Regions from separate parts of the Homo sapiens genome. Here region 2 is linked to region 1. The links are contacts of gene promoters, found by promoter capture Hi-C in human tissues and cell types (Jung and others, 2019). All regions are on one chromosome and are shown on one strand. The core of a region is centred on a gene start or on the middle of the fragment in contact, and the rest is flanking DNA. Distances in the headings are between cores, read along the strand shown. Region 1 holds the start of OR51L1 (olfactory receptor family 51 subfamily L member 1). Region 2 has its middle 14 kb from the start of OR52J3.

What was found. The method cuts DNA at HindIII sites, captures the fragments that hold promoters and counts their contacts. A contact is called where the count stands out against the background at its distance.
Region 2: a contact is called between a fragment that was not itself captured here and the fragment with the promoter of OR51L1 in region 1, in 1 of the 25 tissues and cell types used here (ovary).

What each region holds. Positions count from the first base shown.
Region 1 is chr11:4,993,386-4,996,235 of GRCh38, reverse strand. OR51L1 (olfactory receptor family 51 subfamily L member 1) reads right to left here and starts at 1,385. Exons shown (of 3, transcript NM_001004755.2): 1 at 901-1,385. The HindIII fragment of the contact is 11,490 bases long and covers 1-2,127 here.
Region 2 is chr11:5,030,741-5,033,590 of GRCh38, reverse strand. No RefSeq gene overlaps it. Among named protein-coding and RNA genes, the nearest start is that of OR52J3, 14 kb to the left of the region's middle. The HindIII fragment of the contact is 7,888 bases long and covers 1-2,850 here.

The sequences.
Region 1 (2,850 bases), core at 136-2,635:
GTGTATGCTAAGAACACCTAAGCTCTACTCTCTTGGCAAATTTTCGGTATACAATTTCTGTGGTTTTAATTCTTGCTCATATTGGTTTATCCCTCACTTAAAAAGAGTCCCCATTTCTACAATATTATTAACTCACTGCTTTATCTCATTGATTTATCCCTCACCTGAAAAGAGTTCCCATTCTACAATATTATGAACTGTGGTCATGCTGTATATTAGATCTCTAGACTTATTCTTCCTACATAACTGCAAGTTTGTATGCTTTGAGCTACTTTTCCGCATTTCCTCCACTACCCGGGCCCCCTAAGCCCCTTTCCCGTTTCTATTTCTGTGTGTACTTTCCCTTTCTTATCCTCTCACTGCCATATCTGTCATGTCTTTCACTTTTTAAAATCCATTTATTGTCTTTTCTCTATTCATTTTCTTTTGACTCTATTTCTGGGTCACTGACAATGATTCTTTGTGGTTCTTTGTTGATTTTAGTACAACTTAATCACACTGAGGTCGAAAGAGAAATAATAGAAAAGAACTGGGAGTAATAACAAGACTGTTTCAAAGGGCAGAGGCATGAATAGGCTTATGTCACACATTCACCTATTCCAGGTAATTAAGGGAGAACTACTGAACATAAGACCATTTTTTTACAGCCTCTCTAGTATCAAAACCTATTCTCTGCTAATCAGCTTATCGCTTATCTTAAAATCGCTGAAAATAATTGGAACAAGACATTACAATACTGTAATAAATTTAATTTTTTTCACAGATGAGAATAATTCTTTTTCCTTTTGCATAAATGGTACATCATCTTTCTCATAATTTTACTCTCTTTAGCAAACTATATCCACATACAAAATGTGCTAAAATCTACCAACTATTTATAATTTAAAAATTCACACTTACCTGAAATTTAAATATAAGGCAATTGAATCAATATGCCTAGTTAATTTGCAATCAGTAGCCCATTTCTCAAATGATCCACAGTTCCATTTTGTCTTTCTCTGACTAAACTTTTCTTCACTATAGTTAAAGTCATATTTTCTTTCTGTTCCTATGTCTGTGGCTTTTTCTCTCTTTATCTCATTTTATGTGTCAAATTATCTTTACTATCTTTTCTAGCCTCCTTCCTGCTGCCATTTTTTTATATTTTGTTTTTATCTAAGTTTGTGTCTTTTCAGCATGTAATCCTCTATTTTTTCCGGTCCCTTTGATTGGCTGTTTCTTTCTTCTAATTTCTCTTTGTGTGTCTGTGGTTTAAGTTGCTGCTCTTACGGGCTTATCTCTCACCTGAGAAAACTTCCCATCTCTACCTGAAAATCAAACCTGTACTGATTAAAGATGCTACAATTTTAAGTCTCTATGAACCTCAGGTTTTGAAAACCTTCGACTCTGTGAGTGGTGAGGCTTGAAGGCTTCCACCATCTCTATAAATACTCCTGGTGTCTCCTGGCAAAGAAAATTAGGGATTGGTGTCAGAGTCTGTTGGATCCCCAGAGATGAAATGGCCATAAAAAGCCCTTAACCACAGGTATGGCAAGAGCATATGATCATAATACTGAAAATAGTAGAAATGCATCCCTGTTTTCATCCACCATTCTTAGTTCTCTAATAGTTTTCTCAAATGAGTGTAAGAAAGTAAATTTATGATAACTACTGTGATCCAGAAGAATACTGAAATTTCGGCTTTAACTAGGGGCATTGTACAGAACAATGATGAGAAAGTGCAATGATAAGTCTTTCCATTATAAGATGTTTACCACATTTCACTAAACAGAGTTATTTATTAGTCATGTGCTTCATAAGCATTTATTAAGCAACAGGGTTCAAGAAGGCACACTAAGCACTTTAAAGGCAAACGCTACTATCCAGTTCATTGCTGCTTCCTCAGTGCTTGGTAAGAAGCATCATCTCCCAACACATTTTTTTTCTTTGCATATTGGCTATCCTACCTCTTTGCATTTATTAATAAATTTTAGAAACAGGTTATCCATTTCTACCAAGATATACATTGAGACTACTATTGAGAATGTATTGAATCTGTAGATCGATTTGGGGAGAATTTACATGTTTAGAATGTAAGATAACTAATCCAAGAACAGGAACTTCAATTAATTAAGGTCTTTATTTTTTCTCAATATTATTTTATACTTGTCTGTTTGGAGATTACATATTTTACACTAGGTTTATTCTCACATATTTGGCATTCAATTGTGCTAACGTAAGTAGCATGATTAATTTTTTCTAAATATTTGGGACTGTTACATAAAAATAAAGTTAATTTTTCTTTTTTCAGAAAAGCTGAACTTATTTTTTATTTTTAATAAGTGATCTGTATTCTCTAAGGCCTTATTTTGCACCAAATCACACCTCCACAAGTAATGTCAGCTTCTTTTTCTCTTATTTAAAATCTTCATTATCGTTTTCTATATTTATTGCTTTGTTGCATTGGATAAGATCTCCAGTGCATTTTGGGGAGAAGGGATAAAAATTGTTTTCTTTTCTTTTTGCAGATATCACAGGTGTGGTTAACAACATTTTACCATTAAGTATGTTTGCTAAGATTTTTTGTACCTGCTTTTATCCGAGAATGTTGTCATCTTCTATTGTTCATGTGATAAGGGATTTTGTCAAAAATAGATGCTGAATTTCATAAAATTATTTTGGGTTTATTGAAATTCATGCTTTTATGATACATATTATTTTTCTTTAATATCATGTTAATGTGATTAATTATATTGATTGATTTTCAAATATCAACTTGTCTTTCTGGAATAAACTCAAGTTTGGAATGCCATTTTCTTTTCTTTATTTATTGCCAGATTTGGTTTGCAAATATTTCGTTTAGAATTTTGA
Region 2 (2,850 bases), core at 235-2,734, 37 kb before region 1:
AGAGCAAGATGAGATACAGAATTTTAACACCAAATATTAAAACAAAATTGACCCTCATTACATGGTTTAGTTATACAAACAACTCTTATATAAAATCGAACCAGCATCTTTAATGCTGTGAGAGCCAATAAATTTCCTTTGAAGGTCTATATTATCTTTTCAAAAATATGTAATATAAAGTATCCCAACAGACACAGATTTAATTTTTTTTCTTGGACACATCCCTCACAGTGGCACCAGTTCTGTAGTTCTGCTCTGAAATGGTTGCACTTAGGTGTCTTGCTGAGAATATCTTTTATTTCTCTTTGGTTTTGGAGCCCCTGTTCCTCAAACCTCCTATCTTCCTATTTTACAGATAGCCTTGCAATTTTTCTGGAACAAATCTTTAAGTAAATTCCCAAAGTATGATAAATGGGAAGTATAGTTTCAAAACTTTATATGACTAAAAAGTGCTTTGCCCTCAACCATGATTAATATTTTGGGTCTAGTCATTATTATCAGTTGAATTGTAGCCCCTGAAAATGTATATGTTAGAGTCCTAAACCCTCATTACCTCACAAAGTAACCTTACTTGGATCTCTTTTTTTTATTTATTTTTTTTTTTTTGGTAATTGTTGTTGTTGTTTTATTTTGTGGTGAGAACACTTAACATGTGGTCTGCCCTCAACAAATTTTGAACTTCACACTACTATATTGTTTACTACAGGCACTAAAATTATTCATCTATCATAACTTCAACTTTGTACTCACTAAACAACAACTTCCCATTTTCTCCAGCCCCTTAACTTCTGGAAACCATTATTGTCTTATTCACTTCTGAGTTTCACTAGTATAAAAACTTCATTTAAAGTAGAATCATGCCACATTTGTCCTTCTATAAATGGATTATTTCACTTAGTGTAATACCCTCATGTTATTGCAAATAGCAGAATTTCCATTTTTAAGTTTAAATAATATTCTATGCATATACCACATTTTCTTTAAAATCAATAAAAGTCAAATAAAATGGAGAAAATCAACAATGTGGAAAGTTTGTTCTTTAAATAGTTTAATAAATACATAAAATTTTTAACAGAAATGATCATGAGAAAACAGAGAAAACACAGTTCATACTGTTAATGGAAGTGGGAGCCATTACTACAGATCTCACACACATTTAAACATATTTAAATCATGCAGTGAATACAATGCAGAATATTTTTGCATTACACTAGATATCATAGTTTAAATGACATGTTGTTTCTAAATATACCCTCAGAATTTAAACAAGAAAGACAAAATTGGATCATTGTTCCTCTAAATATTTAATCCATAATTTTTAAAAAGTCACTCAAAAAGTCTTCAATCTGAAAGAGTTTCATTTGTGATTTTATCTCAACATTTACAAAGGAGCTAATACCAGTAGAGTCCAAAGTCTTTGAGAGTATAGAGTATTTCCCAACTGGTTTCATGAGTGATAACTGAACCAGTCAATTATATTCTGAGGAAAGGTAATTAAAGACTAACGTGTTTTATAAGCACAGATATAAATACCCTTAAAAATTATCAAATAGAATACAATGTTGTATCAAGAGAATAACACATTGCAAACAAATGAAGGCTATTCTAGTACATAATTTGTTTTAAAAAATTATAGATATACTTCTTCACACTGCCAAAGATAGAAAAAGATGATCACCTTAATATATAAAATTTAAACATTTTTATCCTTTTAATAAAATTTTTATACTAACATTTTACTTTTAATTTTTGGTACATCATAGGTGTATATTTTTATGTATATTTGGATACAGGCATACAATGCATAATAATCACAGTGTGGTAAATGGAGTATGCATCACCTCAAGCATTATCATTTATTTGTGTTACAAACATTCCAATTCTTTTATTTACTTTTAAGTGTATAATAAATAATTGTTGACTGTAATCATCTTGTGCTATGAAATAGTAGATCTTATTCATTCTAACTATATTATTGTACCCATTAACCATTTCCATTCCCTCCACCACTACTATTTTGTAAGATTTCTGAGTAAACTAGAAACAGATGTAACTACCCTAATTTTACAGATACACATAAAAATAATACAGCTAAAATTATATTAATGAAAACATATTCAATATTTCTCCTATAAGGTCAGGTAAAGTCAAAGATGTCTTATAAATACTTCTATTCAGAACTGCACTATATGCCCAAAAGAGTATAATACAGTAAGAAAAATTATAGAAAAAAAGATGAGAATTTGAAAGAATAAAGTAAAAGTCTCTATTTACTTATATGATTGTGTATATAAGATATTCAAAATATTTGTATTTTTAAAAAATTCTGAGTAATATTCAAAAACACATTCAATTTTAATATTCTTAAAAACAATGTAGAAATTAATTTGAAAATACAATTTACCAAGTAATTGCATTATTAGGTATATATCTGAGGAATTGCTCCTCACAAGAGGGCATTAGCTGCAGGGGTCTGCCTGCAGACCCTGACCCAAACGATGGATGAATAAAATGTACATTGACACACAGATAATCTGTTATGCCAGTCCTGCTGAATGTCCGACCACCTGCACACCAAGAGAGGTTTGTCACTGCGGCTGGCCTTGAGAAGCTTGCACTCCAGACATTTATTTAGTATACAATTAACAACAGAAGCTCTGAGTCAACACACTTGTGGATAATTAACATGGTTAAGAGAGTAGTTCTAGGAATGATTAAAGCTCAGCTAAGGTGGTCTGAAGTAAATACCACCAGGGGGGCAGTTTCCCTGGCTGACCTCCCACCCAGAGGGCCATCTGGCTCAAAGGTTAGTTAATGGAGGTAGGGTAACCAGACTTAACTGGGGAAGCC